Regions from separate parts of the Homo sapiens genome. Here all the other regions are linked to region 7. The links are contacts of gene promoters, found by promoter capture Hi-C in human tissues and cell types (Jung and others, 2019). All regions are on one chromosome and are shown on one strand. Each heading gives the region's core, a stretch centred on a gene start or on the middle of the fragment in contact. The rest is flanking DNA. Distances are from core to core; before and after follow the strand shown.

Evidence for each region. The method cuts DNA at HindIII sites, captures the fragments that hold promoters and counts their contacts. A contact is called where the count stands out against the background at its distance.
Region 1: the fragment with the promoter of SCYL1 here is called in contact with the fragment with the promoter of NAALADL1 in region 7 in 4 of the 25 tissues and cell types used here (aorta, heart left ventricle, heart right ventricle and 1 more).
Region 2: a fragment that was not itself captured here is called in contact with the fragment with the promoter of NAALADL1 in region 7 in 1 of the 25 tissues and cell types used here (adrenal gland).
Region 3: a fragment that was not itself captured here is called in contact with the fragment with the promoter of NAALADL1 in region 7 in 1 of the 25 tissues and cell types used here (hippocampus).
Region 4: a fragment that was not itself captured here is called in contact with the fragment with the promoter of NAALADL1 in region 7 in 1 of the 25 tissues and cell types used here (heart left ventricle).
Region 5: a contact is called between the fragment with the promoter of DPF2 here and the fragment with the promoter of NAALADL1 in region 7, in 3 of the 25 tissues and cell types used here (adrenal gland, heart left ventricle and pancreas).
Region 6: the fragment with the promoter of SLC25A45 here is called in contact with the fragment with the promoter of NAALADL1 in region 7 in 2 of the 25 tissues and cell types used here (aorta and bladder).

Annotation. Positions count from the first base shown.
Region 1 is chr11:65,522,565-65,526,332 of GRCh38, reverse strand. It overlaps SCYL1 (SCY1 like pseudokinase 1), which reads right to left and starts at 1,250. Exons shown (of 18, transcript NM_020680.4): 1 at 1,069-1,250; 2 at 619-759; 3 at 290-412; 4 at 1-209. The coding sequence starts at 1,179. RefSeq lists a silencer at 903-1,402. The HindIII fragment of the contact is 17,278 bases long and covers 1-3,768 here.
Region 2 is chr11:65,409,978-65,413,551 of GRCh38, reverse strand. It overlaps FRMD8 (FERM domain containing 8), which reads right to left. Exons shown (of 11, transcript NM_031904.5): 11 at 27-2,310. The coding sequence ends at 2,192. Among named protein-coding and RNA genes, the nearest start is that of NEAT1, 11 kb to the left of the region's middle. The HindIII fragment of the contact is 9,371 bases long and covers 1-3,574 here.
Region 3 is chr11:64,769,794-64,773,254 of GRCh38, reverse strand. SF1 (splicing factor 1) reads left to right here. Exons shown (of 13, transcript NM_004630.4): 4 at 2,847-2,999; 5 at 3,202-3,291. Among named protein-coding and RNA genes, the nearest start is that of SF1, 7.0 kb to the left of the region's middle. RefSeq lists an enhancer at 430-519. The HindIII fragment of the contact is 3,620 bases long and covers 37-3,461 here.
Region 4 is chr11:65,499,349-65,502,825 of GRCh38, reverse strand. It overlaps MALAT1 (metastasis associated lung adenocarcinoma transcript 1), which reads right to left. Exons shown (of 1, transcript NR_002819.5): 1 at 1-3,477. It also overlaps TALAM1. Among named protein-coding and RNA genes, the nearest start is that of MALAT1, 2.0 kb to the right of the region's middle. RefSeq lists an enhancer at 2,258-2,387. The HindIII fragment of the contact is 4,315 bases long and covers 1-3,477 here.
Region 5 is chr11:65,331,392-65,335,105 of GRCh38, reverse strand. It overlaps DPF2 (double PHD fingers 2), which reads right to left and starts at 1,254. Exons shown (of 11, transcript NM_006268.5): 1 at 1,188-1,254. The coding sequence starts at 1,219. RefSeq lists a silencer at 813-902 and an enhancer at 953-1,002. The HindIII fragment of the contact is 14,713 bases long and covers 1-3,714 here.
Region 6 is chr11:65,380,750-65,384,394 of GRCh38, reverse strand. SLC25A45 (solute carrier family 25 member 45) reads left to right here and starts at 1,749. Exons shown (of 7, transcript NM_182556.4): 1 at 1,749-1,909; 2 at 2,426-2,480. The coding sequence starts at 2,444. It also overlaps a transcript of FRMD8 not described here. RefSeq lists a silencer at 323-617 and enhancers at 529-1,055, 1,384-1,583, 1,594-1,903, 1,803-2,097, 1,584-2,111 and 4 more. The HindIII fragment of the contact is 21,887 bases long and covers 1-3,645 here.
Region 7 is chr11:65,056,723-65,060,119 of GRCh38, reverse strand. NAALADL1 (N-acetylated alpha-linked acidic dipeptidase like 1) reads left to right here and starts at 1,567. Exons shown (of 18, transcript NM_005468.3): 1 at 1,567-1,783; 2 at 1,870-2,042; 3 at 2,124-2,245; 4 at 2,627-2,749. The coding sequence starts at 1,599. The HindIII fragment of the contact is 22,908 bases long and covers 1-3,397 here.

The DNA.
Region 1 (3,768 bases), core at 1-2,500, 470 kb before region 7:
CTGCCACTGCTGTCAGCCAACTCCGGGGGGTCATACTGCTCAAGCTCGGGGATCCCCTTGCGGGGAGGTCCCCCACCGTTGCCCTGGGCCGAATACATGTAGTCCAGGCCCCCAAGCTTCCACTCGCCAGCTCGGTCCACGAACACGGCGGCCATGCAGACATTGTTGTGGATGAGGCTGCAGTCGTTGACCAGGAAGCTGAGGGCTTTCTGGGGGCAAAAGGAGCCATCACGCCCCAGCACCTGCAACCCCCCATCCCTGCTCTCATCACCACTGCCCCCCACCTCACCACGATCTGGTGTAGCCCCCAGGAGATCTCCAGCTCCTTCAGGCCACCAGCCTCCACTCTCGCCTTGAGGTATATTCCCAACGGGGTCACAGCCTCTGTCACGACGTGGAGGCATTTTTCTGTCTGGGGAAGGGGACACAGGGTTATCAAGGGCGGAGGGGCAGAGAGGAAGGAGAGATAAGCGACTTGAAGTTGGGAGAGATGGGGAAGAGGAAACCAAATCTGGGGGTGCTGGGGCACATAGGGTGGAAACAGGGCAGGAGGGGAGACAGGAGTGGGTAACCAGGACATCGTGAGGGGCAGAGACGGGCAGGCAAGGCAGCAGGTACCTCCAGTCCATCGATGTAAGCCAGGATGTTGGGGTGCCGTAGAGTTTTGAAGCGCTTGAAGGCAGCTTTGGCCACCTGGGTCTGCTCTTCCGCGCCAGGCTTCACATCATAGACGAAGATGGACACGGGGCTGCCTGTGGCCTAGGGGAGGGCAGCGGGGCCTGAGATGGTCCCAGAGCTGTTGTGTGGCCGGAAGACAAGGGCCCGCAGCCAGGTCTCTCCCCAGGTCAGCCTTAGGGACACTTCGCCGGGCCCACGTGACCCCGGCCCTGTCCGCCTGTCGGTCCCTCGGTCCCTCCGCCCGCCACGTAGGCACTGCCCGCCCCCTCCCCGGCCTGCTACCCCTTGGTTCCGCCGCCACGTCAGGCCGGGCGCAACGCGACGGGGTCGGCGGCGCGGAATAGGCAAGGCCCAGGTCGACCGCGGCCTACGGAGCTCGGCCGCACTCACCTTCTTGCGGCCGCGGTGCAGGGCCCAGGGCCCGGGCAGGCCGCCCTCTGGGGGCTCCGGGATGAGCTCGAACGGAAAGTCCCGGACCGGGTCCCGGGCAAAGAACCACATCGTCCCCACCGCCGCCGCGGGTTCGGGCGCCTTAGCTCCGGGTCCTCCGGCCGCCCGAGCCGGGGCGGGGCGGAGAGGGGGCGGGGCCTGCGTCAGACGGGGGCGGGGCCCGGGGGCCAGGGCGGGGCCTACGTCGGGGCGGAGCAGGACGTGAATTGGGGCGGGGTGGGGCAGAACCTGAGTTGGGGCGGGAAGGGGCGGGGACAAGGGAGGGGCGGGAGAGGGGCGGGGATGGGGGGGCTAGGGAGGGGCGGGGATGGGGGGGCTAGGGAGGGGCGGGGATGGGGGGGCTAGGGAGGGGCGGGGCAGTCCGGGGCGGCGGGCGGTACTAAGATCAGTACTCCGCCGCCGGGTAAGTCACTTAAAACCCTCCAAGCCTGTGAGCCCTTTTATCTAAAGAGGCCTAAATCCTAAAGGATAATAGAGCCTGCCTTCTAGCGTACTGTAAGGATGAGAGCTTAAGAAGGGACAGAGGGATGGGGAAACCGAGGCAAAAAGGGGGAGAGGTAGAAAGACTGACAGGCATGAGAGGGTGCAGTGAGGAGTGAGGCAGAGACCCAGAGAGGGAGACTGGCCCCACGCCAGACACTCTCTCCCACCAGCAAGTGGGTGCCTCCAGGCTCCGGGGAGGAGTCGGTCCTGGTGAAGTGACCATGAGAGAAGCACGAGGAGACGCCCCAGAGAAAGAGCGTGGGTGAGAGGCAGAGAGTGAATCCAAGGTTCCAAGGAGGTCCAGAACCCCGGGGCAGGGGCGGGCACCCAGGGAATGGAGGAAGGAGAGACTGAGGAGGGAAGAAGAAGTGACCCCAGGAAAGGAGGGAGGGAGAAGGAGCAACTGGGCAGGTCTGGAAGAGGCCAAAGGGCTGGGAGGGGACCCTGCTCTCCTGGGCTCAGCTGCCCGGCTCTCAAGCCAACGGATTGCATCTCTCAGTGCCTGTGTAGACAGCCATGGAGTGGTGTTAGCTCAATCAGCACATCACACTGGTGGGGATCCAGCCCCTGAGCTGTGTAGGAGGGGCTGGACAGGCAGTGGTTCTTCTGCTGGTAGGGTCTCAGGACCCAGGCTTGGGGACAGTGCCTCAACCACAGCTATGGAGCACTGGTGAGATTCTGGGACTGGTTATGAAAAGTCTGGTTGGGATGCCTTTGGGAGATAACTCAAGGGCAGAGATGCCACAGTGAGACGGTGCTGGGTTTCAATCACGGTTCAGCCCCTCATTGGATGTGAGAACTCACACAGTTCCCTTTGGGTGCGTTAGGTCCCCCATCTATAAACTGGGGTGAGGGCCAGGCACAGTGGTTCACGCTTGTAATCTCAGCACTTTGGGAGGCCGAGGCTGGAGGATCACCTGAGGTCAGGAGTTCCAGGTCAGCCTGACCAACATGTTTGAAGGGGGCCTGCCCCTCCACACCTGTGGGTATTTCTCGTCAGGTGGAGACAAGAGACTGAGAAAAGAAATAAGACACAAAGTATAGAGAAAGAACAGTGGGCCCAGGGGACCGGCACACTCAGTATACGAGGACCTGCACCGGCGCTGGTCTCTCAGTTCCCTCAGTATTTACTGATTACTATTTTCACTATCTCTGCAAGGGGACTGCGGCAGAACAGGGTGATGGTGGGAAGAAGGTCAGCAGGAAAACATGTGAGTAAAGGAATCTGCATCATAAATAAGTTCAAGGGAAGGTACTGTGCCCGGATGTGCACGTAGGCTGGATTTATGTTTCTCTTTACCCAAACATCTCAGTGTAGCAAAGAGTAACAGAGCAGTATCACCGCTAGCATATCTCACCTCCAGCCATAGGGCAGTTTTCTCCTATCTCAGAATAGAATGACTGGTGGGCTTTACACCAAGACATTCCATTCCCAGGGACATACGGGAAACAGAGGCCTTCCTCTTATCTCAACCGCAAAGAGATCTTCCTCTTTTACTAATTCTCAGCACAGACCCTTTACGGGTGTCGGGCTGGGGGATGGTAAGGTCTTTCCCTTCCCACAAGGCCATATCAGGCTGTCTCAGTCGGGGAGACAATACCCAGGCTTTCTCGGGCAGAGGTCCCTGTGGCTTTGCACAGTGCATCATGTCCCTGGTTAATAGAGAATGGAGAATGGCGATGACTTTTACCAAGCATACTGCTTGCAAACATATAGTTAACAAGGCACATCCTGCACAGCCCTAAATCCCTTAAACCTTGATTCAATACAGCGCATGTTTCTGTGAGCACAGGGTTGGAACTAAAGTTACAGATTAACAGCATCTCAAAGCAGAAGAATTTTTCTTAGTACAGATCAAAACGGAGTTTCTTATGTCTTCTTTTTTTCTGCATAGACACAGTAACAGTCTGATCTCGCTTCCTTTCCCCCACATATGTGTGGGCGGAGGAATACCTAGGTGCGGAGGCAAGAGATTGAAGGCACAAACTGTTTCAGTATAAAAAAGAAAATAGTTAGAATAAGAATAGTCATAATACAAATTAGATATAGAGATGGTCATGAACAATTATCAATCATTGTTATAAGCATTATTAATCATTAGCTTTTAATATTACTCTTTGTTGCATTACTAATATAACCTAGGAATAACCGGCGGG
Region 2 (3,574 bases), core at 437-2,936, 350 kb before region 7:
ATTTCATATCATGAGCTGCCCCAGAGTTTGTTAGAAACTGATTTTAATAAGTCACATGATACAAAAGAATGAGAACATTCAAAGAATGAGTAAAATACTGCTTTGTCCCAAAGGACAAGCAGAAAATGTTAAGGCACAATGGATGCTCAGAAAACGTAAGAAGCTGAAGGGAAAACACATCATCTGTGTACTCAGACACACACACTCCAACCCATCACACGAACACACCCTCGCCCGCCCATCAGAGAAGAATTCGCCTGGAATCAGCTGGGGGCGGTGGCTCACGCCTATAATCCCAGCACTTTGGGAGGTTGAGGCGGGCAGATCATGAGGTCAGGAGTTCACGACCAGCCTGACCAACATGGTGAAACCCTATCTCTACTAAAAATACAAAAATCAGCGGGGCCTGGTGGCATGCACCTGTAATCCCAGCTACTCAGGAGGCTGAGGCAGGAGAATCGCTTGAGACAGAGGTTGCAGTGAGCCGAGATGCGCCACTGCACTCCTGCCTGGGCAACAGAGCAAGACTCCGTCTCAAAAAAAATAAAAAAATAAAAAAAATAAAATCACCTGGAATCAAAGCAGCAGGGACAGCCTGCGCTGGAGCCGCCAGAACAGGCAGGCGGGCAGCTCCGCAAGACCGAGCAACTCCAGGACGGGAGACGAGAACTGGCAGCTGACATGACCCTGTGACCAGGACATTCCAAAAGACTGGGGGCCCTTCCCAGGCCTCTTCTTTCCGCCTATTATTTTAACAAAGTCCATGCTGCCAGAAGGCAAGCCTACCTCGAAACACCTGGCACATTCACAAGCTACCAAAGGGAGGAGGGTGAACAGGCTCTGATACTTGGAGTAGAGGCCCAAGCTTCCTCTCCCACGGTTTTCCACCGGGAACGAAGACAAAGCCAAGCCCTGTGCAGCCACAGGAAGTCCCAGGAAGCACCTGTGAGACCCGCACACCCACCTCGGAGGGTCCCAGGGCTGGGAAAGCCCTCCTCTCAGGGGCTCTCAGCTCATCTGGGACAAGACAGAGCCCCTGCTCCCCGGAGGGCAAGCTGGGACCAGAGAAGCCAAGCACCCATATCAGTCACCTTTCCAAGTGTCCTCGATAAAGAAGAGAGTGTCCCGTGTGGCCCAGGCTTTCCTGGGCATGCGCCAGCCCCCAGAGGAATCCATGGCGCCACCTGGGAAGGAGCGCACAGCAGAGGTACCCAGGGCACTTCCTGGCGTTGCCCCAGCACAACTCAGATGAACAAAGACCAAACTAAAACCTGAAGACCCAGACACAGGGAGGGGAGGTCAGGTCCGGTCAGTCCCCTAGGGGAGCTGCTTGGGCTCCAGGGAGTGCCCACCAGGGGATTTTCAGTTTTTCACAGACTGTGAGTGTGGGTCTGGAGGCCAGGTGGTCCACAGGATAGCCACCTCCCAGCAGTGACATCACCAAAGGCTATCAGAAAGGCATGCTCTTTCTGGTATCTCGTGCCTGCAAAGGAGACCAGAACGAGGGGCACAGGACCCCAGGTAGGGCCCTGCCTGGCTCCCTCCATTCCTGATTCAACCAGGGAGGTGTGGTGGGGGCCCTCACCGTGTTTCTGTCCCGGTTCAATCCAGGGAGGCCCCTCCTACCCTCCTCAGAGTGGTGGCCCAGCCTGGTATTGGGGGATGGAGCACCAGCAGGAGGAAGGTGGGAAACTGGTCATCCAAGTCCGGGGGGTGGAGCACTAGCAGGAGGAAGACGGAGACTGGTCACCCAAGTCCAGGGAAGAGGCCAAAGGCACACACTGGAGCTTCAGGTCCCAAACCTCAATCCTTGGTCCTCTACCACTGGAGCTGCCACTGGGCACTTCAGAACAGGGACACTGCCCATCTTGAGGTGGGCACAAAGGCATGTTTCTAGGTGAGGGTGGCAGCTGCAGCTTGATCGGATGGTCCTGAGAGAGCAGCAGGGCCCAGCATCCGGGGGAAGGGAGGGCAGGCTGCAGAGGAGCCCTACAGGAGGCCCTGGCCAGCTTTGCACAGCCCGGGCATGGCCCCGGGCCCAAAAGTCACTTCTCCGTGGTCTGAGAAACCTGCTGAGGCAGCCCTCCCCACGTGGTGACCCATGAGACTGTTGCAGCCGGCGCCTGCCCCTCAGGAGGACAGTGCCGGGCCAGGGCCCCCAGTCGCCCTCCTCCTGCCGGGTGCAGCGTCCTCAGCCCTGCTCCAGGCTGTCGCCGGGCTGCACCACGGTGTAGCTCCCCTGGCCCAAGGACAGCTGCCGGCTGAAGAAGGATGTGGTGCGCTTCGGCTTCACTCGCCTGATCCCCTTGCCTGCGAGGGAATGGGAGGGCACACTGAGCAGAGGCGCTGTCCCTGTGTGAGGGGGCTCAGGCCCAGGAAGCCAGGTTCTGGCTCCAGCGCGACGGCTCCTTCCAGAGCCTGGTCAGACTGAGCTCCCCTCATCCGAGCCTCAGCCCCGCTCAGCATGCTACAGTATACCCCAAGCAGCGCTCCCTAACACTGCCGACCTAAGGTCATCACAGACAAGGAGGGTCCTTCATAGCCAAGAGAAGCCTGGGGAGACGTGACAACTAAATGCAGTGTGGGGTCCTGGTGGGATCCTGGCACAGAGGGATGTCTGGAAAACACTATGGAAATCTGACTAAGGTAGGCACTTTGGCTAATAATGGCAATACCGGGTCATTAATTAAAACAAAAGTACCATATTGCTGTAAGATGTTAGTTTTTGGTTTTTTTTGGGTTTGTTTTTTTTTGTTTGTTTTGAGACGGAGTCTCGCTCTGTCGCCCAGGCTGGAGTGCAGTGGCACTATCTCGGCTCACTGCAAGCTCTGCCTCCCAGGTTCACACCATTCTCCTACCTCAGCCTCCTGAGAAGCTGGGACTACAGGCGCCCGCCACGGCGCCCAGCTAATTTTTTGTATTTTTAGTAGAGACGGGGTTTCACCGTGTTAGCCAAGATGGTCTCGATCTCCTGACCTCGTGATCTGCCTGCCTCGGCCTCCCAAAGTGCTGGGATTACAGGCGTGAGCCACTGCGCCCGGCCTTTTGTTTTGTTTTGAGATGGAGTCTTGCTCTGTCACCCAGGCCGCAGTGCAATGGCACGATCTTGGCTCACTGCAACCTCCACCTCCTGGGTTCAAGCAATTCTCCTGCCTCAGCCTCCTGAGTAGCTGGGACTACAGGTGTGCGCCACCACGCACACTAATTTTTGTATTTTTAGTAGAGACGGGGTTTCACCATGCTGGCCAGGATGGTCTCGATCTCTTGACCTCATGATCCACCCATCTTGGCCTCCAAAAGTGCTGGGATTACAGGCGTGGGCCACTGTGCCTGGCTAATTTTTGTATTTTTGGTAGAGACAGGTTTCACCACGTTGGCCAGGCTAGTCTCAAACTCCTGACTTCGTGATCCACCTGCCTTGACCTCCCAAAGTGCTGGGATTACAGGTGTGAGCCACCATGTCCCGCCTTTGTGGTTTTTTTTTTGAGACAAGCTGTGTTGCTCAGGCTGGAGTGCAGTGTTACAATCACGGCTCACTGCAGCCTTACCTCCTAAGCCTAGGTGATCCTCCCAC
Region 3 (3,461 bases), core at 597-3,096, 290 kb after region 7:
AATTGGAATAAAACTTAAAAATGTTGGGAGAATAAAAAGTTACAGGAAAATGGACAACTGGTTTCCAATTGGTAAGCATGTAGATCTTAACCTGATTTACCCACCCTTAGGGGACAGTGAGGTGGCCCGTTAACCTGCCTTTTCAGTACCTGCTTTGGCCAAAAGCCCAGGGCATAGAGTTTTTCTCACAGGTACACAGTGCAGGGACTAAAAATATTTTTGAGCATCACTGAACTTGAGCAAGCCAGGAGCTCTGGTCAGCTCATTGCTGCAGTCTTCCTGCTCATGGTTTTGAGATGGTTTCAAAATCAGATGAGATTTCTAACCAACTTCTTTCACTGCCAGTTAACTTTCAGCCTTGGCCATTGCCTTGGGGGTGTTGGGAGGGGCCAGAATATTCTCACCTATTTTGGGAAGGCATGCAACCAACCCTAAATTACTTTTTTTTTTTCCTTAAAGGGAGCGTGGGCCTCAAACAGCTGTGGTCATGTCATTTCAGTTTGCAGTTTCTCTCACCTCAGAAAAATAAATTGTGTGGGGGAGATGAACTTTTTTAAACTGGAATTTTATTAGCTGATTGAACAGCTAAAATTGGTCATTTAATTAGAAGGGCAGTAAGTCTCTCCCTCTCACTGAATTTTCTCTTAGTACATACAGAATAGTTGAAAAGACTTTGCTTTAAAAAGTAGTGTTTTTGGTTTTTGTTACCCAGTTAATAGCTTATTAAATCAGGAAGATGATGTAATGGCTTTAGAAGTCACTCACTCATGCATCTTTCTTCCGCCCTTTGCCAGGAAACATTAACTTCCTTGTTTCTCCATATTGACTCTTTAATTTGACTTACTACATTTGCTATATTTTACCTATAGATAGATTTTGGTTGTAGGGTTGTGTTGTGTTTCGTTTCTTTTTGAAGATTTTTTTTTTTTTTAAATTTACATTGTAGGTCATAGACCACAACTGTTTAGTGCCTTTTTGGCCTTTTTCCCTTTAATAATATGTCTACAGGTCACCAGTCAATTCCTCCAAAGGTTGAATTTTTAACAAACCTTCTTTGCTTCCTGGATAACTGGGATTAGAATTTAGTTGATCTAGCCGATGCCTGTTGGAGGTGAAGAAGTCGGGCCAGTCTAACCTCTAGAATACTAGCTTTTGCCTTTCACTTCTGCAATTTGGGAGGAGGTTAAACTGTTGTGAGGCCTTCACATGGCCAATTGGGTGCTGGTAAGACTTGTTTTTGTAACTAGCTAAGAATGCTTAATTCTAGACAGCTGTGGGGTGGGAATTAGAAATGTCAAGCATGTTAGAAATAAAACCAGAGCAGGGTTTTTCCTCCCTTCTATTCAGTTTTGAAAGAGGCCCTAATGCCTGATTGGTTTTGCTTTTGAGCCCAGGTTGGAGGGAAATGCATGGGTTTTCTTAATTAAGATAATTTCTTAAAAAGGTGTTATATCACTTAAGCCACTTTATTGTTATTTTGATGCTGCTTAACTTGCACAGTAAAAACATGTTTAAAACTTTTCTTGTAGACTTAAATGTATAAGATGGTAGTCTAATGAGCTGGGGTATGTTTGCTTTTGTTCACTCTTAATGGATTGTGCTAACAGTTTATACAAATGCTAGAAACGGAGGTGTCATTTAGCCGTCATTAGCCATGAACAAACCTGACCTTTTATTCCATCGTGTGTGTAACGTGGTGTGACATGGTTCCCTTTAGGCTGAAGACAGTGGGAGCAGCCGAGTTCAGTCCTTGCTCTCCAACTAGGCAAGGTTCTCTCAACTAAACCAAGGGTATAGGAGTCTTGATTACTTTCAGTATGTTTTTTTAATAACCTGATCCACATGGTCTCTTCCCTTCTTGCAGCTGCTACTAAATTTTCATTCAGAATATCAAGCTATGGTCCTTTTTGTAATCTTAACTCAAAATTCTAGGAGTGTAACCTCTCTTTTTTATTACCGCAAAATCCAGCTGTGGTAAACTGACCATTTTATCATTACATTTTTTTACTTGTAGCAACAGCATTTTACTCCTTAAAAAAATGAGAGAGAGAAAATCTGCTTTCTGGACTTGTAAACTCTGGTGGAGAATCATAGGTTTTCCCCTTGCTGTTTGCAGGTTCAGACCCTAGACAAGTATGACCAAATCTGCATTTGCAGCCTCTCGCAGAAGCTGCTTTAGCACTTTAACGTTTTTCTCTACCCAGACTCCCCAACCTCGAACAGCCAGAAAACAGGTTGTCTCCTGGGCCTTGGACACAGCCAGCCAGGCCATTGAAGGAAAAGCAAAGACGAAGCGAACCATCTCTCTCCATTGTGGGGGCCAAGTAGCTGCAGTAGCCTTCAGTCCCAGTTGCATTGGGTTAAAGAGCTCATACATACTATGTGTTAGGGGTACAGAAGCTTTTCCTCATAGGGCATGAGCTCTCCAAGAGTTAACCTTTTGCCTAAACTTGGGGTTTCTGTGGTTCATAAAGTTGGGATATGTATTTTTTTTCAAATGGAAGAAAATCCGTATTTGGCAAGAAGACTCCAGGGGATGATACTGTCCTTGCCACTTACAGTCCAAAGATTTTCCCCAAAGAATAGACATTTTTTCCTCTCATCACTTCTAGATGCAAAATCTTTTATTTTTTTCCTTTCTCACACACACCCCAGACCCCTAACGTTAAGCCAGCTTCCATCTCCCCATTCCACACGATCTTGAGTAGCACACGTTATGGTCGGTTCCTCCGAAGAGTGTTGTATTAGGGTCTGAGAGGCAGAGGGGCTGGGAAAGACTTGTTATAGTCCGTGTGGGAATGAGAGAAGTCGGTGCAGAATAGTAAACGGGAGTCTGTTTCCCACAGGTCCCCTTCCCCTGAGCCCATCTACAATAGCGAGGGGAAGCGGCTTAACACCCGAGAGTTCCGCACCCGCAAAAAGCTGGAAGAGGAGCGGCACAACCTCATCACAGAGATGGTTGCACTCAATCCGGATTTCAAGCCACCTGCAGATTACAAGTAAGCGGAGGGGCTCGGTCATCTGGGATGAAGACACATGCAGATCATGGGTGACCTGCTGGGATGGGACAGTATTGGTACTACTCACCTCTTGCCTCAAGTCACCCATAATTAGCACTTGGTACCAATATTTGGTTTTAGAAAAGCCGCTGGCTGTGTCATTCTCCAGAAATGTGCGGTGACACAGGCTTTTCTTTCTTAGACCTCCAGCAACACGTGTGAGTGATAAAGTCATGATTCCACAAGATGAGTACCCAGAAATCAACTTTGTGGGGCTGCTCATCGGGCCCAGGTGAGTAACTGCTGGTCTATAGGATATAGAATTCCTTTAGAGCCTGTGAGATGTGTCCGTTTTGTGCCTAATTGGGGACTGTTGGCTTACTTTTCCCCTTTTTGGTAGGACATTTCATTTTGGCTGAATTAATGCCTTTCTGTGAGAAGGTGTCTTAACTTCCCCACTAG
Region 4 (3,477 bases), core at 744-3,243, 440 kb before region 7:
TTTGGCATATGCAGATAATGTTCTCATCAGTAGTAAGAATCTCAGGGTTATGCTTATTCCCCAATGGAGGTATGACATATAATCTTTTCTGCCTTTACTTATCAATTCACCAAGGAGCTGTTTTCTCTGCATCTAGGCCATCATACTGCCAGGCTGGTTATGACTCAGAAGATGTTATCTGAAAAAAGTCTATAGAAAAAAAAAAAGTTTCCCCTCCCTCATCAACAAAAGCCCACCCTCTAAGAGACATTCAAGCTGAACTATCACAATTCTTAATCAGTTACAATTTACAAACAGATAAGTTTAAAATAAACAATTTACAAAATTTTTGAAGCATACCTTAACATCTTGTTTTGCAGTTAAACAATGGAAAAGTATTTCTCCTACACTAAAAAAAAACTTGCTTACACACAACTGAAAATAGAATCTTACTTGATAATACAAAAGCTACCATCAGAAGAAATCCCTTCAGGATCATTAAGCCACTTCCTTTGCTCTGCAGTTTCTATAGTAGTTTTAAATTATTATTAAATCACCTGAAAAAAATTCCAAAAGAGAACCACACACTACCATATCCAAACAACTTTTGCATTTCCCATAATTGTAGTTAATGTCAGCCCAGTAGGCCAGACCAACCCCCAGTTCAATACTTTCCTTCCCCAAAAGCTCTATACTTTGAAGGAAAACAGATACAGTATCAAATTATGACACTTTCCTTGCCCAAATTAATGCACTGGTACACCCAGTGGCTCATATTTAACTTCCCCCAGCTTCCCAATTCAAACTGGGGGGAAAAAAACTAAATCATTGGGAGTTACTTGCCAACTTGGAAGTTGATATTTCTTTACTTTTTCCATTCTAAGACTTTAAGTTCTCTGGCATGAGTTTATCTGCAATCATAAACTAAACAATTACCTAAACCCACCCCACCAATCCCAACCGTAACAGGCCACTGCCAACTAATTGCCAATATTTGCCCCTCCCCTTTAATAAAACTTTTAAGAAGTCACATTATTGGAAAACTTAACTTCAACATTTGGCCTACTCAAGCTCTTCTGAAGTTCTCCTGAGATGACTGAATATGAACCAAAGCTGCACTGTGCTGTACTTTTCAGCTTCAACTGGGAATACTCTTCCAAGGATAAAAGCAGCTCCAGTCCCTGAAGGTGTTCGTGCCAACAGCACAGCGGTACACTCCTTCTCTAACCCAGTTTGTCAATAGTACTATAGCATCTGTGGAAAATCTTAGAAAAAAACATTTTCTCCCCCACCCTCTCTCTTCCCTGTTAAGACCATCCCAAAATGCTTCAAGTAAAAAATAACAAGTTTAAGGGGTTAAGCACTTTTAAAGTCTGATTAAGGGGGTGGGGGGAAAAAAGAGTAACTACCAGCCATTTCTCCAATGGACATCTCTTCCACAGACCTCAACGTGAGAACTGCTCTAGTTTCTATAAACTGTAAACCTGTGGTGGTCTGATTATCCTGATATTGGATTTTCTTGTTTTCTGTTACACCTTGAGTCATTTGCCTTTAGGATTCTAGACAGACCTAAGGGAAAAAGAACTGAAAACATATTTTGCCCCCACCCCCACAAAAAAAAATACTGAAAACTCCCCCCCGCCTCAGTTACACATCCAAACTCTACATTTACAAAACGAATTCAGGGTGAGGAAGTAAAAACAGGTCATCTATTCACAAAACTGAAATACTTCATTACCCCAACTAAACATACAAACTGCTTACAGATTTGCTGAAATTGTCTCAATTTGGCTATCAAATTCATTTGGTTTTCCTCAAATTCGTGTAAAAAAAAAAAACCCACAAACTTGCCATCTACTATTTCTCCAGGACTTGGCAGTCTGCCCTCAAAAGCTTCAGACAAGATTCATGAGTATAAGCCTGAAAAAGAGAAACCTACAACACCCGGAAATCGGCCTACGTCCCCATATAAATCCCTTTACACCTCAGTACGAAACTCCCCCATTATATTAGAAAATAAATAAAAGGTTACCATAAGTAAGTTCCAGAAAAACAACATATTGCCGACCTCACGGATTTTTACCAACCACTCGCTTTCCCTGTGGCCTTGGCACACTGGCATGCTGGTCTAGGATCCTCTACGCACAACGCCTGCTCGCCTCCTCCGTGTGGTTGCCAAGCCAAGCCGCCTGCTACCTTCATCACCAAATTGCACTCGCTCCTTCCTGGAATCCTTTTTCCTAGCTTCACCACCAAATCGTTAGCGCTCCTTCCTTCTTCCTAGCTTCCTTCACCAAATCGCACTGGCTCCTGGACTCTTTTCCTATCTTCACCACGAACTGCTGCTTGCTCGCTTGCTCCTCAGTCCTAGCTTCATCAAACACTGGTTCCTGGAATCCTGTCTGCTGCTGTCTTCCTAGATTCACTGAATCCACTTCTGTGTAGCACCTGGGTCAGCTGTCAATTAATGCTAGTCCTCAGGATTTAAAAAATAATCTTAACTCAAAGTCCAATGCAAAAACATTAAGTTGGTAATTACTCTTGATCTTGAATTACTTCCGTTACGAAAGTCCTTCACATTTTTCAAACTAAGCTACTATATTTAAGGCCTTCCAAATTCTTCTAACTCTTCCAAAAGCCTTCTGCCTTAGTTTTTTTTAAATTACACCAGTCCTTTTAGTAGCTTTTTGATGTGATTTTTAACCAACTTCCCCTTCTAGCTTCAAGTATTCTTCTAAATTGGTTCTGGTCTACGTAAACACCCTCATCTTCTCAAGCTTTACCTTCTAACTTCTGCACCACCAGAAATTAAATTGATGGGCTTTTAAAATAAATTGGTTACCAATAATTTCCTCATTTTTTCAGTGCTATTTTATCCAATTTTTGGCTTTATATTTTTCTATCTTCTATACTTCTCCAATACTTGTCTTAGCTTGTTTTTCATTTTCTATCTGAAACTCTTGACAATATTTTCATTTTCTATCTTGTTTCTATCTTCCAATTTTCTTCTAAGTTTGTACATTTTGCCCTTAGCTTTTTGTTTCCTAGCTTGTCTTTTTTCTTCTGCTTCCTACTTTTCAGGTTTAAATTTATCTTTTTTCTTCTAAAAGTATGTTTTTATCTTCTAATTTCCCTATCTTCTCTATTCTTTTCTTCGCCTTCCCGTACTTCTGTCTTCCAGTTTTCCACTTCAAACTTCTATCTTCTCCAAATTGTTTCATCCTACCACTCCCAATTAATCTTTCCATTTTCGTCTGCGTTTAGTAAATGCGTTAACTAGGCTTTAAATGACGCAATTCTCCCTGCGTCATGGATTTCAAGGTCTTTTAATCACCTTCGGTTTAATCTCTTTTTAAAAGATCGCCTTCAAATTATTTTAATCACCTACAACTTTTAAACTAAACTTTAAGCTGTTTAAGTCACCTTCATTTTAATCTAAAAGCATTGCCCTTCTATTGGTATTAATTCGGGGCTCTGTAGTCCTTTCTCTCAATTTTC
Region 5 (3,714 bases), core at 5-2,504, 280 kb before region 7:
AGAAAGCAACTTAAAAAAAAAAAAAACAAACCACAAGAGGAGGAAAGGCACTTAGCTTAATGGAAGTGGGAAAGCATTCTCAAAGAAAAGGCTTCAGGCAGGAGGGAGAAGCAACTTACTCTTTAAAAAGGCTCTTAGGAAGAGTGGGGCTCAGGCCACGACAAAGACAGATGAGAAGCTGTGAGTCCCTTAGAAGAGTTACCGAACCTTTACCTCGTCATCCAGTCAAAATGCAAAAACCCTGACTGGACAGCTAGACACCACTCAATTTTCCCACCCTTGCACCAAGCCCAACATACCCATTAAAAGAAGCTCTATTCGCCCACCATGCATTAACCCAATCTAAAACTCATTCTGATTCTTCTGTAGGAATAAATCAAGTCCCAAAGCATCTTTAACTCACAGGAAGCAGTTCATAGGCCAGCGTCCATGGCCCCAACAGCTATTAACTTTAACTTTGCTTGAAATCTGACCAGCACAATGGTATCGTATAATAGGAAGAATGCCCACCTAGATGCCCCTTTAGGCTAAGCTGTCCTGAACGGCTTCGGTCCAGTTGCAGGTTTTTGATGGCTGCTACTGGACGGGGCCAAGGCCCACTCCCCTGAAGTTCCTTCCCTTCTGGATCCGCTCCTCGATAAATTCTTCCCAAGAATATTTGTAGTCTTAGGTACCTGCCACCCAAGATCCTCCCAAACATCACGGGGCTGCCTGGAACTGAAACAGCCAGCCCCGCAGTGCACTCCGCAGGGGCCGCCGAGCCTGTTGCTGCAGCGAACGGGACGGGACGGGGCGGGGTGGGCGGCGGGCCAGCCGTAGGGCCGCCCGGGCCTCGGCCCCGCTCCTCCGGACTGAGGCGTCTCGGGAGAGGACCGGGACGGTGAGTCTCGCGTGCAGGCAGGGCGCCATGCTCTGGAAACCGTCAGCCCCGAGGAACGCTGAGGCCACACAGCCCCGCAGGGATGCCGCCCGTCGGGGCTCCAGTGTGCCCCCACCAGGGCCTCCACAAGTTTCCAAAGAAGCGCAACGTCTTCTCCGGAGTCTCCTGTTGCCCTCCCCACCAGGAGTCGCAACATGGCTTTCCCGGGGATGTCCCTCTCTCCGCCTAGTCCCTTCCCCCACCGCCCCCTACTCCCAGGCCCTTTACAAAACCTGCCGCCCTAGGAGAGAAAGAAACGACCACTCACAGCTTCACTACATTCTCCACCACAGCCGCCATCTTCCCTGTTCCTCTGCCTCGGGCCGAGAAGCCCCACAGTCCGCAGCGCGCAGGCGCCGGGACCGCACCGGGGTACCAGGTTCCTTGCCCTCTGCGCAGGCGCCGTCCGGGCGCGCGCACTAGAGCGAGCACTGAAGAAAGAGCTTTACGCCTGTTCGCGGGGGCCGGGTAGGAAATGCGTGGACCCCACGGGAGCCCGACGCGCAGGCGCAACCGGAGATTGGCATGCATCCCGGAGCTCCGGTTCGAGGCTTGCCTCTAATATTTAGAGGAGCAGGAGCCGGGGCCGGGCGCGGTGGCTCACGCCTGTAATCCCAGCACTTTGGGAGGCCGAGGCGGGCGGATCACGAGGTCAGGACATGGAGACCATCCTGGCTAACACGGTGAAACCCCGTCTCTACTAAAAATACAAAAAATTAGCCGGGTGTGGTGGCGAGCGCCTGTAGTCCCAGCTACTCGGGAGGCTGAGGCAGGAGAATGGCGTGAACCCGGGAGGCGGAGTTTGCAGTGAGCCGAGATCGCGCCACTGCACTCCAGCCTGGGCGACAGAGCGAGACTCCTTCTCAATAAATAAATAAATAAATAAAGGAAAAAAAGAAAAAGAAAAAAGATTAGCTGGGCATGGTGGTGCATGCCTGTAATCCCAGCTACTAGGGAGGCTGAGGTGGGAGGATCACTTGAGCCCAGGAGTTTGAGGCTCCAGTGAGCCACTGGAGCCACATCACTGCACTCCAGCCTGGGCAACAGAGCGAGGCTCCATCTCAAGAAAAAAAAAAAAAAAAAGGAAAAAAAATATATATACATATATATATACACATATATATATACACATATATACATATATATATATACACATATATATACATATGTATATATATACATATGTATATATATATATATATATATAAATATAATCACTAAAGCTGAAAATACACATACCCTATGACCCAGCAAAGTCCACTCCTGGATATACACACAAGAAAGCTGTACAAGAAGCTGAGTGCAATGCCTCATGCCTGTAATCCCAGCTACTTGAGAGGGTGAGGTGGGAGAATCACTTGAGCCCAGGGGTTCAAGACCAGCCTGGGCAACATAGCAAGATCCTGTCTCTTAAAAAAAAAAAACAAAAAAAAACAGGCCAGGAGCATTGGTTCACGCTTGTAATACCAGCACTTTGGGAGGCCACGGTGGGCGGATCACGAGGTCAGGAGATCGAGACCGTCCTGGCTAACATGGTGAAACCCCATCTCTACTAAAAATACAAAAACAAAATTAGCCGGGCATGGTGGCGGACGCCTGTAATCCCAGCTACTGGAGAGGCTGAGGTGGGAGAATGGCGTGAACCTGGGAGGCGGAGTTTGCAGTGAGCCAAGATCGCGCCACTGCACTCCAGCCTGGGTGACAGAGCGAGACTCCGTCTCAAAAAAAAAAAAATAAAGCTGTACAAGAATGTTCGTAACAACATTATTTGTTTATATTTATTTATTTATTTATTTTGAGACGGAGTTTTGCTCTTGTCGCTCCTTAACAAATTCTTCCTTCCAGCCCAGGCTAGAGTGCAGTGGCACTATCTCAGCTCACTGCAACCTCCACCTCCTGGGTTCAAGTGATTCTCCTGCCTCAGCTTTCCGAGTAGCTGGGATTACAGGTGCCCCCAGCTAATTTTTGTATTTTTTGTAGAGACAGAGTTTTACCACGTTGGCCAGGTTGGTCTCGAACTCCTGACCTCATGTGTTCCGCCCGCCTAGGCTTTCAAGTGCTGGGATTACAGGCATGAGCTACCACGCCTGGCCAGCTGATGTAACCTTTTCTTAAACAATCCTAAAAGAACTGAAAGCTATTGATGCTGGGTTCATAAGCTGCCTTTCCAATTATATGCAGCTAGCCTATTTATTATTAGTACTATTTTTAAATTCAAACTTTTAATTGAAATATACATAAAGAGAAGCACATAGATCTTATGTAGCTTGACTAATTTTTTTTTTTTTTTTTTTGAGACGGAGTTTCCCTCTTGTTGCCCAGGCTGGAGTGCAATGGCGTGATCTCGGCTCACTGCAACCTCCGCCTTCCGGGTTCATAGCTTGACTAATTTTTTTCAATTTTTTAATTTTTGTGGGTACATCGTAGGTGTATATATTTATGGGTACACGAGATGGTTTGATGCAGGTATACCATGCAAAATAATTGTAGCTTGATTGATCTTTACAAAATAGACAAACCTGTGTAACCACTACCCAGATGAAGAAAAAGACATCACTAGCACCTCAGTAGCCATCTCATGCTTCTAGCCCTAAAGATTAGTGTGTCTGTGTAACTGTATGTCAATGGAATCATACAATATGTCCTATTTTGAATTTGGCTTCTTTTGTTCAATATTAATTTTTTCCTTTTTTTTTTCAGCCCCCACAATGCTTTGTCTACAGTATTACATTTTTGAGATTTTTTTTTTTTTTAAGACAGGGTCTTACTTTGTCATCCAGGCTGAGTGCAGTCGT
Region 6 (3,645 bases), core at 500-2,999, 320 kb before region 7:
ACTGGGAGAGAGTCCGGGAGGCTGATGGTGGGGAAGGAAAGGCATTCCAGGTAGTGGGAACTGCACGAGCATGGTTAGGACCCCAGGAAAGACCCCCGCTGTGTGAGAGCATAGCAGGTGGGTGGCACCATGGGGGAGGCCTTGAACCCCAGGATGACAGATATGGGGCAGGCGTGTTAGACAGTAAGAACATTTTGGAGGTTGTGAGCTAGAGATTCACAAGATGACGCCATGCTTAGGTGGGCTTCCCTTCAGCAAGGCTGTAGGGAAGTGGGAATGAGGGTCTTTCTCAAACTGGGGTGAGGCGGTGAGATTGGAAAAGAGAATGAGACCCATTCTGAAGTGAGGGAGGAGGCGGCCTCCAGCCTTTAGAGCTGAGAGGCTTAGACATCAATTAGCCCGACTGCTGTCCTACTTTGGCAAACAATAATAGACCCCAAGGCCCACAGAAGAGGTTGCTCAACATCACTGAGAGAGATAATGTAACCGCCCATTGGGTTCACCTTACCCTCTGCCTAGACAGAGCCAATTTGTCAAGACAGGGGAATTGCAATAAGGAGAGTTTAATTCATGCAGAGCTGGCTGTACGAGAGACAGGAGGGTTTTTTTTTTGTTTGTTTGTTTGTTTTTTTTTTTTGAGACGGAGTCTCGCTCTGTTGCCCAGGCTGGAGTATAGTGGCATGATCTTGGCTCACTGCAACAGCTGCCTCTCGGGTTCAAGCGATTCTCCTGCCTCAGCATCCCAAGTAGCTGGGACTACAGGCGCCCGTCATCACACCCGGCTAATTTTTGTATTTTTGGTAGAGATGGGGTTTCACTATGTTGGTCAGGCTGGTCTCGAACTCCTGACCTCAGGTGGTCCTTCCGCCTCGGCCTCCCAAAGTGCTGGGATTACAGGCGTGAGCCACTGCGCCTGGCCTGTATCAGTTATAGTTTTTGCAAAGGCAGTTTCAGGAATAAGAAGCAGAACCAGGACTGCAGCCCAAGCCACCACGAGAGGCCAGTCTTTGGGGATGGTCTTTTAGGATGATCTTTGGGGGTGGCCCAAGGAGCCCCAGGCAGCTCCAGAGGCAGGAGGTAGGAGGTCCTGTTTCCCGAATCTGTCCACCCGGGAGAAAGCAGCAGGGGTGGGTGGGTTCTGCCTTGGCCACAGTGAGAGGAGAAGGGAGAGAAGGACTGGGCCTTGGGCGTCCCCCATGGGAGACTAGGAGCTGCGGGGAGATCTGGAGGGGAGGGTGCAGGTGTCACTGGGCCTTGATGTTTCCCAGGGCCGTTTGGTGATGGGAAGAGGGAACTGGAGCCCCAGGCTGCCGCTGATGCTGCTGGCTGACATTTCCGTTCATTCAGTCACTCAGGATTTATTGAGAGCCCACCCTGTGCCACCCGCTGTGCACAGAACACCCAGAGATCCCTGTCCAGACAGACAAGTTCTTCCCATCGTATGTTGGCGTGATAACTGTGATGGAGAAAGAGAGGAAGAGCCAGCAGTGCCTCCGGCTGGGGAGGCGGGGCAGACCTCACCCAGGTGGTGACATTTGAGCCCCAGCTGGAGGGGTGCCAGGGCAAGAGTGCCCAGGAAGAGGGAAGAGCCAGTCCACAGGCCTGGAGACAGAAGGCTGACTGAAGAAGAGTCTGGAGGCTCGGGTGGCTGCAGCAGAGAAAGCAAGGGGGTGGGTGGCAGGACGTGAGGTCAGAGGAGAATGGGCGGCACCCTGTGGCTCACAGATCCTTGAAAGGGTTTTGGTTTTGACTGAGCAGAATGGTGCCATTGCAGATCAACACGCACTTTAAATAATCAAAACCCCTATCTTTCCCCTGGGAAGGAGGAAGCCGAGGAAGGCTGTGTTTCTGACTCACACGGGGGAGTCGGGGGAGTCGTAAACAACCCTGAAGAGAACAGCCAGGCCTGGTGAGTCACTCCTGGGAGTGGCTCCTCCCCACCCTGCCACGCAGCGGCAAATGCGGGCTGGGCCTACCCCCTGGTGGCCACGCTACCTCCGCACCCGGCCTCTCTCTGTGGCATGGGGGCGGCCATGCCCCTTGGTGGAGATGAATGGGAGTGGAGCTGGGCTGGCTGGGCAGGCAGGGGCTTGCCTCTTGCTGACTAAGGCAGCCCTGGAGGGGCCCGACCATGGGGCAGGAACCCAGTTGCCATCCTCAGAGCGAGGATCATTGGCCGGGCTCGGGGATCAGGGCCTCTGTGGTCCCGGCACGCCTGGCCCGTGAGACTGTACTCTGCACGACTCCTCCAGGTGGCCAGGGTCACCGGAACTGGCTCGCTCTCCTCTGCCAGTTGCCGGAGGTCTGGGCACCAGGCCAATTCTCACCTTCCCGCCAGGGTTAAACATTAGTGGGAGGTTATCAGCGTGGGCCAGGGGAGGGAGAGGGGGGAATTCAACTCTGTCTCCTCTGCTGGAGCCACCAGTTCCCGCAAGCCCAGACAATGCCGGTGGAGGAATTTGTGGCTGGCTGGATCTCTGGTGAGACATTTTTCTTCCTTCTGTCACATCACACCCAATGGTAGGTCACTTCCTCGGGAAGATGGGTGACATGGGAGGAGCAGAGACCAAAGTCTGAGTTCCGGCCTGGCGGGAGGATCACTTGAGCCCAGGAGTTTGAGACCAGTCTGGGCAACATAGGGAGGCCCCTGTCTCTACAAAAAAATCAAAATAATTAGCTGGGCATGGTGGCTCACACCTGTAGTCCCAGCTACTTAGGAGGATTGCTTGAGCTCAGGAGTTCAAGGCTGCAGTGAGCTATGACTGCACCACTGCACTCCAGCCTGGGTGACAGAATGAGACCCTGCCACAAAAAAAAAAAAAAAAAAAAAAAAAGAATCAGGGCATGGTGGCTCACACCTGTAATCCCAGCACTTTGCGAGGCTGAGGTAGGAGGATCACTTGGGGCCAGGAGTTTGAGACCAGCCTGGGCAACATAGGAAGACCCTGTCTTTATAAGAAATGAGAGGCTGGGCGCGGTGGCTCATGCCTGTAAGCCCAGCACTTTGGGAGGCTGAGGTAGGTGGATCATGAGGTCAAGATTTCGAGACCAGGCTGGCCAACATGGTGAAACCCCGTCTCTACTAAAAATACAAAAATTAGCCAGGCGCGGTGGCGCACGCCTGTGGTCCCAACTACTCCAGAGGCTGAGGTGGAAGGAGCCCTTAAGCTCAGGAGGTTGAAGCTGCAATGAGCCATGATCATGCCACTGCACTCCAGCCTGGACAACACCAGCAAGACCCTGTGTCAAAAAAAAAAAGTCTGGGTTCCGTGGAGCACCCCAGAGCCAGCTGTCCCCAGTCCTCTGGGGAGTGGCCGATGGGAAGAAGAGAGGAAGGCACAGGTGGGAGGGTGCTGCCTCTGCCTTCCAAGGCCACTCTGCCTGACACCTGCAGAGGGCGGGAGAGCCAGGTGAGCACCCTATACCTTGAGCCCTGCTCTCCAGGCCCACCCTGTTGGGCTTACAAAGGAAGTTCACCTTTGACCTCACCTGCTGTCCTGAGTCCCCTCTGGGCCTCTGCCCCACCTGGCTGTGGGCCGCAGTCCCGGGCCCTGAGGCCTGTTGTGCTGTGGTCCCAGCCCAGCTTCTGGGTGGCATTCCTCTTAGGAGAAAGAGAGGGACGTTCTGAACCTGCCTCCTGGGGGT
Region 7 (3,397 bases), core at 318-2,817:
TGCCCTGATCCAGCCCCCAAGCTCTGCAGGCATCTTTGAGCCCATCCATGGGCTGCAACCTGCGAGGCAGAGTCAAGGCAGGATAGGCCATGGGAGGGTGGGAGAAGTCCCAGCTCAAGTCCCTAGGGACCCCCCCAGCCCCTCCTGGCTCTCCGTGAGGTCTGGAAGAGGCTCAGTATGTGTATGGCATACTTGGGGTCTCACTTCCCTCTCAGCCCTTGCAAATGCTGGAACACCTTTTCAGCCTTGGAGGACCCCCTCAGATGTTCCCTCCTAGTCAGAACTCCTCACTCTTTCACTGGGAGCATGGTGATCCTCCCTCTACAGGGCACTTACCACATGGCTGAACCTAAAGCCTGTCTGCCTCGCCTGCTGGATTTTGCTTCCCCACAGCCTTGCATGGCTCTAGTATAGCACAGAATGAACAGTGCTTGCATGTATAAAGGAAGGAATGAATAAGTGAATGGAGGGATGGGTGGATGGATAAATAGGAGGGTGGATGACGGAGTCCAGGCAGAGCCAGGGGATAGAAGAGGAAGTCACCTCGCCAGGGAGGCATGGGCTTCCCCTGCTGCCTCCTCTGGGACAGCCTCCCTTCCCAGGACTCCCATTCCTCGTATCGCTGGGCTCCCTTCAGGATAGACACAGAGAGTTCTTCTGGGTCCTCCTTCTTCCTTTAGCTCTAGGCCTTACATTTTCCAGAGTCAGATGAGGGATGAGTAGTTAAAATTGATGAGCTCCCACTACATGTCAGACACTGCACTAGCTATTTCTACAGATGCCATATTGTTTAATGAAAATGACACCATAGCCGGCACGGTGGCTCACTCCTGTCATCCCAGCACTTTGGGAGGCTGAGGCGGGTGATCACCTGAGATCAGGAGTTTGAGACCAGCCTGGCCAACATGGTGAAACCCCATCTCTACTAAAAATACAAAAATTAGCTGGACATGGTGGTGCACACCCGTAATCCCAGCTACTCGGGAGGCCGATGCAGGAGAATCACTTGAGCCCGGGAGGTGGAGGTTGCAGTGAGCCGAGATCACACCACTGGACTCCAGCCTGGGTGTCAGTGGAAGACACAGTCTAGAAAAAAAAAAAAGAAAACAGGTGTAGAGAAGCTGAGTGGATTGCCCAAGGTCACACAGCTTACGTCCAGCAAGAAGGGGGATCTCAACTCAAAATCTGCTCAGGCAGGTAGGGCTGGGTATGCTGTAGATCGGCTGCCTTGGAGGGAGGCAGAGGCAGTGAGGGTGGGCAGTGGGCACGGCCCTGCTGTGAACACAGGAGCTCTGAGTTCCAGCCCTGGCTTGGCCTCTGTTTTCCTGGGACACCCTGGATGAGCCCCTTCCCTCTCGGCTTCAGTGTCCCTGGGTGACCTTGCTGCCCTTGGAGAGCCATTCCAGGCAAATGGTGCAGGATGTGGTGGATGTGGATGGCTCCTGGCTCTCACTGCGGGATGTTCCCTCACTCTCCCTGCCAGCTGGGGGTCAAAGGGCAGTGCCACCCATGGGGTAATGTTTAACCAGGCACAACACCCCCTCTATAGGGAATAACCTATAGACCAGTCCTACCCCAGCTGGCCAAGAGTCCGCAGGATGCAGTGGACGAAGGTGTTGGGGCTGGGGCTGGGGGCTGCTGCCCTCTTGGGGCTGGGGATCATCCTCGGCCACTTTGCCATCCCCAAAAAAGCCAACTCACTGGCCCCCCAGGACCTGGACCTGGAGATCCTGGAGACCGTCATGGGGCAGCTGGATGCCCACAGGATCCGGGAGAACCTCAGGTGAGAAGTGGGGCCATCTGCTCCTCCGTTTGCCAGAGGCCCCCTCCCTGATGCTGGCCCTGCCCCTCCCTCTGCCCACCCTGCAGAGAACTCTCCAGGGAGCCACACCTGGCCTCCAGCCCTCGGGATGAGGACCTGGTGCAGCTGCTGCTGCAGCGCTGGAAGGACCCAGAGTCAGGCCTGGACTCGGCCGAGGCCTCCACGTACGAAGTGCTGCTGTCCTTCCCTAGCCAGGAGCAGCCCAACGTCGTGGACATCGGTGAGGTCCTGCCCAGTCTTGGGAATGCCCGGGGGTGGGGAGCTGCTGGGCCCAGCCATGATACTGCCACCCCTCCAACAGTGGGCCCCACTGGGGGCATCATCCACTCCTGCCACCGGACTGAGGAGAACGTGACCGGGGAGCAAGGGGGGCCAGATGTGGTACAACCCTATGCTGCCTATGCTCCTTCTGGAACCCCACAGGTGGGCCCAGAACCCCCCCTACTGCTCTGGCCCAGCTCCCTTGGTTCCACCCAGGGTTCTCCCCACCCTGACCCAGGGAACGTGCCTCAACTGGGGCACAGCGCGCCCTCCGGAATTTACTCACCGGGACACTCCATCGCTGCTCCTTTCCTCCATCAGTCATTCAACAAACACTAGTGGCTCTGCTCAAGGCCAGGTCTGTTACAGGGCACCCAGACATGGAGGAAATGAGGGGTGACTGTTCTTGGGGAGCTTACAAGCTCTGGGTGAGGTGGGGGAACAGAATCTAAATTCTCCCTCCTGCCATGCAAACTTCCACCCCCCTTCCCCACCCACACTTCGCTGGGCCCAGCTCTAAGGATCACCCCCTCTTGGGACTAGGGCCTCCTCGTCTATGCCAACCGGGGCGCGGAAGAAGACTTTAAGGAGCTACAGACTCAGGGCATCAAACTTGAAGGCACCATTGCCCTGACTCGATATGGGGGTGTAGGGCGTGGGGCCAAGGTGAGTGGCAGTCCCCCAGTGCAGGAGGCCTCGGTGAGGAAGGGGCTGGGCAGTGGACTGGAGGAAGTGAGGGGAAGGGGAAGGAGAAGAGGCAGTGTTGAGTGGGGAACCAAGCCCCAGGGTGGGGCAGGAAAGGCAAGGTGTTTTCGGGTTGTCCCACCAATGGGCTGTGTGGCCTCGGATGCCTCCCTGACCCTCTCTGAGCTGTAGGAAATAAAGGGGTTGAGTACAATTTTCAGGTTTGGTATTCCAGAAGTCTAAGTCCTCCTGTGAAATAGTTTTGAATATTCAACTTAAGTCCCTCCTGTTGGCCCTCTCCCTGCCATTTCTTTTCCATCAAAAATTCTGACTAGGGGCCGGGCGCTGTGGCTCACGCCTATAATCCCAGCACTTTGGGAGGCCGAAGTGGGCAGATCACCTGAGGTCAGGAGATCAAGGCCAGCCTGGCCAACATGGTGAAACTCCATCTCTACTCAAAATACAAAATTAGCCACACATGGTGGTGCATGCCTGTAATCCCAGCTACTGGGGAGGCTCAGGCAGATGAACTGCTTGAACCTGGGAGGCAGAGATGGTAGTGAGCTGAGATTGCACCACTGCACTCTCCAGCCTGGGAGACATCGAGACTCTGATTTAAAAAAAAAAAAA